Linked DNA regions of Homo sapiens: region 1 is linked to region 2. Evidence: promoter capture Hi-C in 16 types of primary human blood cells and fetal thymus (Javierre and others, 2016). All regions are on one chromosome and are shown on one strand. Each heading gives the region's core, a stretch centred on a gene start or on the middle of the fragment in contact. The rest is flanking DNA. Distances are from core to core; before and after follow the strand shown.

Region 1 (3,699 bases), core at 396-2,895, 6.5 Mb after region 2:
ACTTTAATATAAAGAATTTAAAAATTAGGTTTCTGTTAACTAAGCAGCCATATCCTACCGTAGAATTATTAAGCTATTCTTCAGAAAGGATGATAAAGAATCCAAGGACAGAAGCAAGAGGATAAAAGAACTTGAGAAAAGGCTTAAGAGTAGAGTGGCCTTCGAGCAAAGCTTCTTCACAAATGTCTTTATCAATAAAACCAACCTAACCAAGCTTCCCTTGAAGCTTTCCTCTAACCATTTGCTCCAAGAATTTCTTTCTTTAAATACACCTTATGACATCTGCCTGTTTAAGACATCATATTTTAACAAGATTCTGCAGACTCTCTTTTTAAAAATCAACTTTATATTTAAATTAAACTGATCCCTATTTAAAGAAAGTTTTGGATCAAAGTTAAACTAATAATAATAAAAATGTATAACTATGTTGCTAAAGCTAAGGCAATTTTCAGGTAAAATATAACCCAAGAGTTTCTACACTGATAACGTGTGTTGTACCCAACAAATGTACTTCAGGCCACTCTAGATTTTCGGGTTCTTAAGTTCAGATCACATGACACCATCCAGCATCCTAATGCACAGGTACATTAAGTACCACTGCACATTCTCCCAGATGATTTTAGAAATGCAAACTATTAAAGTTGGATATTGTAGATATTAGCTATTTCCAGGTCAAATTATTTTCCTTGGGTGTTTGATGTTGATTTTTGACATAAGCCTGGTTTAACAATTGTGATTAGCAGCTCAAGTGTGAGCATAAACAGCCCATCAATGAGTCGATATGACTACTAAGGGCATGCCTAATGACAGGAAAATGATTGTGCTGACAATACAAGGTGGAGAACACGGGCTGCTTCTCAGAAAACATATGTTTATCATTCTAGTTCTCTGATTTTCTGCAGTTAATCATTTTTATTTTCTGTTTAGAAAGCTGAGTCACTCATTTAGAGGCAAAAAATAATGATAAATGTAATTCAGTTTAACAGCCCTGGGTGCCAGAACATTTTAATTTAACCAAGATGTTTTCTGCTTTTACCTATTGCAGCTTGAAAGTTAACTCCTTCTCCAATTTTTGCTGCCTTAAAAAAAATCCCTAAGATTCACTACATTAGTACAAGTGGGAAATAAAGCTATCAGTTTATGCCTAAAATCAGGGGTATATGCTAGGTTTTTGAGCACTGGAAAAATTACTTAGTTCTGATATATCAGTGACAGAATTCTTTAGCTCAAAACCATCCTTAGAGTAAAATGCATTAGAAGTTTAAGAACCTTCCTCTCTGTCACCAATGGAAACCTAAAGTATATTGCCTTCAAGAGAAGAAAGGTTCAACTCGTTTAGAAGCTTGTTATGGAAGTTTCCCAGACACAAGAGTATTTTATAGGCTGTGTGTGTTTACACTTTGGAAGAACACAAAGAAGCTAATTCATTCTTGGAAAGTGTTTCTTATAAACCTTGTTTATTTATTTCAAAACAAACCAGTTATTGAAAACAAGCATAAGCCATTCCAAAGCTACTGGTCACAGAAACCTGAATTATCAACCGGGTGGTAGAGGAGCCAACAAGAAACAGAAAGATGAAATGGAGTAAGTGCACGCTTGTTCAGAGAGCTGCGGCAGTCCTGGATCTGCTGAAGAGACCTAGAGGAGAAGCGCTTCAGAACCTACACATTGAGTCTTAGGCCCAAACATGCATATGCTTAAGAAAGAAGCAATCCTGTCATCCTGTTTCTTCGCAACCAAAGGAAGGGGGAGTGGAGGGACCAACGGTTCCCGCCCTCTTACCCGGTTGTTGATCTAGGGCAAGGATCCTGAAGAACTTGCCTGAGTAACGCGAACTGTGCAAAAGTTCTCAACTACGAGTGGGAGCCCCTCCTCACAGCACTCCCCCCACCCCTATCTGTGCACTTGTGAGCAAACTGAAAAATGCAACAATGACAAAGAAGCTTGCCACTTGCAAGCGCGCACTCACCCTGGGCTGTGGAGCCCAGCTGGCCGCCGCCCGCCTCGGCCACGCGCTGCGGCCCCACGGGCCCGGGAGCGAGGGCTTCGCCCGCGCCGGACATGGGCCGCTCCGCCGAGCCCGCGCCGCGCCGCTGCCGCCTAGCTCGCCGCCCGGCAGGGCGCACGGAGGAAGGGCTGTGAGGTGCTGGGTGCAGGGAACTGACTGCTTCTGGCGGAAAAATATACAAAATTAAAAAAAAAAATGTTTTTAGAGAAGAGCACACCACCCCTGCGGGACGTTCCCTCCCCCTCCACTTCCCTCCCTCAAACTCCACCCCGGGGAAGTTTTGATTTGAAACTTGCGAAGAAAACTGTTACAGCGCAAGTTGACAGCGGCGGGGTCCCAGGGGTCCGAGGTGGACCCAGCGGGGAGGGGCTGGAAAGAGAGATCGGGTTTGGGAGAACCCCGGGGATGGGGATCAAACCCCTCCTCTTCCCCGCCCGGAGACCACTACCTACCTCCGCATCCCCCCGTAGTCGCTCCAAGCCCCTTCCTCCTCCTCCTCCTCCTCTTCCGCCCCGGAAAGTTAGCGAGCCTCCGGCAGCGGCCGCATTTTCGCCCCGGTGGCCTGACGACGGCGGCGGCCGCCCCTGCGCGTCCTCCCGCCTCCCTCCGGCTCAGCCCAGACGCCGCAGTGGCGGCAACTGCGGCAGCGGTGGCGGCTCTGACTCCGCGCACTCCGCCCCCTCTTTCCAGCCAGCTCACTCCAGCCGGCTCCCCTGCGAGGGGGCCTTCCCCCTCTCTGCCTCTCTTTCCCCTCTTCCACTCCTACAATCCTGAAACACTTCTCCCTCTGTTGCTCTTTTTCATCACATCCGGATCGGGAAGGCCTCGAACTCTTGGCTAGCGGCCCCGATGCTGGGAGCGGCGCGACCCGGGCTCGGCCGCGCGATCCCTCGCGCCCTGCGCTGTCTGGGTCAGGAGGCCAGAGCCGGCCTGGGCTGGCTCGGGCTCCCCACCCGGGCGCTGCGCCCTCCCGGGGCTGGGAAAGGGGAGTGAATGGGCAGGTCCCTGGCTGCCCAGACGTTCCCCCCACCCCGCCCAAAAAGTCACCTCATCCCTTCTCCCTACTCCTGCCCCCAGACCGACGGAGGCTTTGGGAATATCCTGACGAAAACCTTTAGGGTGGACAAGGAAAAACGAAAACACTGTTACAGTATCGAACTTTCCTGGTGGGATAGAGAACGTGTGCGTTTGAAACCTTGACCCCTCGGTTGAACGTTTACTCACTTCATCTCTGGCTCCTAAATTACTCTTTGGTCAAACAGTATTCCTGATGTAAAACCAGTTGCAGTTTGCGCGAATCTGCTGGAGGCATCCAGGCAAACAAGGTTGGCACCCTTGCGGATGCCGTGGTACTGGCCCCAGCCTGGCCTATGGCAAGCTAAATGCCTCACTGGATCAGTGGTATCTGAGGGGAGATAAACTTGTGGTCGGAAGTAAAAAGCTGATCAACTTTCCGTTTATAAATGAGACATTCTGATTGTAGCTTAATCTGATGAGCCGAGGATAGCAAGTGTAAAGTAATTTACAGATATATAGTACTTTAGTGGTATACTCAGATAACTTTTGCTCTTTTATTTCATTGTGAATGAAATGCAGAATTCATTTGTAGAAAGCTAGAACGAACTCATTCTTCGATTCTTTTGGACAAGCGAGGAATCACAGTAACGTTATCAAAACTGAAGAAAATGTGC
Region 2 (3,225 bases), core at 339-2,838:
ATTAAGAAATATAATTTCTACTGTATCCAGGACATAGACACACAGACACTCACCCACACATGATGCTGTACAAATGTTTCATGAAGAATACTTATCCTGAATTTATGCTTTGAACTGTTTTTTTTTTCTATTTTTCAGTGAATCAACAGCAACAAAATGTTGGTTGTGACCCATTGTTATTAATTTCATTACCTACCAAAGGGTTCTAAGCTATATCTTATGGTCAGTGGAGAATAGGCTACTAACACATTAAACTTTATGCACAGGAATTGTTTCAGGTGTGGTGCTATAAGAATATGTCACATGTAATTTCCAATCTGGTTGGCTCGGTTACAGAGCAGATTGCTCTTTCAGAAATACACCGTGACCTCCCTACTCAAGAGGCTTCATAAACTCTTTCAGTGAGACATAGCAGTCTAGGAGAGGCATGTGTACAGTAAGTGTTATGATTTTTTGGTACTATAATAAGCAAAGTGCCTTTTTGTTTATTTGGAGCTACATGAAGCTAGGCCGGAATTCCAGCTTCATAACTTACTATCTTGTATTTTTGAGCAAGATATTTAAACTCAGTTTTGGAGTCTTAGTTTTTTGATTTAAGTAATACACAAATAGCATAATATTGGCACATGGAAGACAATGAGAATTCATTTCATGCTTTCTCCCCTGATCACGGATCACAAACTCCAGAATTCATAGTTACTATTAGTTTGTGTGTTTTATATTTTTGGAGGAAAGCTAAAATTTGGTAGATTATTAATTCTATATTAACACACTATAGTCAAACCCTATTTTTAAATGCAATTTAATTTCTGCAACCACTGATGATCCCAATATTCTGTCAAATACTAGGTAACAGTTATTCATTATTTTAGAATATGGATCTGAATTATGAAATAATTTTGCATTCTAAGGTCTTATGTAGTAAGATTTGGATTAACTTCCCAATTATCAACACAATTGTAGGAAATCTCCTGAGAAAAAATATTTCTAACGATTGTGTATCTTATAATTTAAAAAATAAACGTGACTTGGAAAATGCAAGGACTACTGTTCTTCTTGGGTGGTGCATTAAAGGTGATCAGAATTCTAATGACGCTGGACAGTAGGATTTTCAGAATCAGTTTCCTAGGGTTCAAGAAGTCAAACGGCAAATAACCCAAGGTCCTTGGTTGATCTGACCATCTCAGCTATCTCAAGATATATAAGATGACCTAACTGGCGCATCTCTAGGATGGGTGGGTCATTTAAAATGTTCTGCCCTTGAGGCTGGGATTTTGTGCGTGTAAACGGTGGGGAGACGGCGGTGACACATTTTTCTCCCTCCCGTAGTGCCACCCGGCGCAGGGCCGCTGCGGCGGCGGCAGCTCCCACGTGGCAAGTTCAGATTGTGCAGCGCCTGGCCGGGGGCGGTGGGCGGGACCGCAGACCCCTCCCTCCGCTCTCCGGCCCTTCCCTCTGGCCGGCCCGGGCGCCCGCTTGGTCCTCCACCGCCAGGGGGCGGGCGCGGCTTCCCGGCGGCGGGGGCCCATTGGTCGCGGCCGGGAAGCGTGGGAGGAGGCCCAGCGGCGAGCTGGCTTTCTCCTGGCCACTTGCCGGGGTGAGGGGCAGCCGGAGGAGTCCGAGAGGAAGCGGAGGCGCGAGCTGGAGGCGGCGGCTCCCGTCGGCCTCCGGCAGGACTGAGCGCTGGGAGGCCGGAAGGCGGGCGCGCGCGGCGGAGAGGCGGGCGGGAGGCCGGTGAGACGGCTGGGAGGCGGACGGAGCCGGGGCTCAGGTTCGGGGAGGGATGGAGGAGGCCGGGGAAGCCAGACGCCCACCTACGACTTCAGCCTCCGCGCACTGCGGTCACCGGCCGGGGGCGGGCCCCGGGCCCGGCCGCGTTGTCACGGCGTGTCCGGACGTTGGAGAGGGCGCAGGCGGGACTGGGGTCCCGGAGAGCCGCTGGCCGGGGTTCCCGGCCGCCGCCCCGGCGTGGGCATCCCCGGGCTCCGCGGAGACGGGGCGGCGTCTGCACCTGGCGCTGGCACTCGGCGCCCCGGCCTGGGGCGGGCACCTGGGTCGCATCTTCCCCAGGTTGGCTGTGGCTCGCGCCCCTGCAGCGTGTAGGCTGAGAGCTCCGAGAGGTGGGGACGGAGTTGGGTGTTGCATTCCAACTCCATAGGGGGCCGTTTTGACTCACTTGTAAAGTTTTAGTGTCGCCTATACTAGAGGTACTTTTGGTTTTTTACAAGCTATCCAGCCCTTTGATGTTTGGTGTCTCTTCTTTTTCTTCCTATTTGTTTGCTACTGCTCTCACAGCTCGGGACCACGGATGATGATTAGTGGCCCTAGATCTGAATATGTGAGTGACGGATTGGCAATTTGAGATTGAGAGCTCCAGCTGTTTTACTTGTGGGAGGAGCGGTTTCCATCATCCTCTACCTTTTTTTTTTTTAAGAAAAAATATTATTGCCTGTAATATAGAACTGCTATCTAATTGATAGGACTTTTCCTTTGTTTCTTTTTGGCCAACATGGTGAAACCTCGTCTCTACTAAAAAATAAAAAAATTAGCCAGGTGTATGTATCCATATATATATATGTATGTATGTATCCATATATATGTATGTATCCATATATATGTATGTATCCATATATATGTATGTATCCATATATATGTATGTATGTATCCATATATATGTATGTATCCGTATATATGTATGTATCCATGTATCCATATATATGTATGTATCCATATATATATGGATACAATGACATAAATAATATTAGATTGCTTACTGTGTACTAGGCACTGCCAAATGGTTTCGTGTGCTCATTTATTCTCACAACAGCTCAGTGAATAAGTCCCTTTATCTTTTCTAGTTTTACAGATGGAAATATGAACTCCCGAGAGTAAAGGTCAATGCTGATAGCAGAGGCCCCGACCCCTTGGACTTGTGGCCAATTTGCAGTTACGTTTTCTTAAGTCTTGGGAACCGTTACTATTAGTCATACAGTATCTTACAGAGTACCAGCAGATCTCTATTGAATTTAGAAAATAAAAGTTAATCACTTACTGAAAGCCATTTAACAAGAAATTGGCAGAATCAGCAAATCAGCATCCGGTTTTGGTCACTTCATCGACCTGTACCTCTTTCTAGAGGCTACTAGTAGTCTCTTGTGTTTCTTGGCTGTTTACCAATAAAGTCACAAGGTTTTCAGTTTTATACAGGTATTAGAAGCTTTGTTT

The links. Contacts are between HindIII fragments. The CHiCAGO score rates a contact against its expected background, and 5 or more counts as called.
Region 1: a fragment that was not itself captured here is called in contact with the fragment with the promoter of FAM3C in region 2 in 1 of 17 cell types (non-activated CD4 T cells); the score reaches 6.8 in non-activated CD4 T cells.

Annotation. Positions count from the first base shown.
Region 1 is chr7:114,921,398-114,925,096 of GRCh38, reverse strand. It overlaps MDFIC (MyoD family inhibitor domain containing), which reads right to left and starts at 3,003. Exons shown (of 5, transcript NM_001166345.3): 1 at 2,461-3,003; 2 at 1,970-2,170. The coding sequence starts at 2,063. RefSeq lists silencers at 1,984-2,123, 2,354-2,533, 2,544-2,593, 2,924-3,063. The HindIII fragment of the contact is 601 bases long and covers 1,345-1,945 here.
Region 2 is chr7:121,394,671-121,397,895 of GRCh38, reverse strand. FAM3C (FAM3 metabolism regulating signaling molecule C) reads left to right here and starts at 1,588. Exons shown (of 10, transcript NM_014888.3): 1 at 1,588-1,734. RefSeq lists silencers at 1,224-1,283, 1,324-2,153 and enhancers at 1,381-1,965, 1,966-2,551. The HindIII fragment of the contact is 3,372 bases long and covers 1-3,219 here.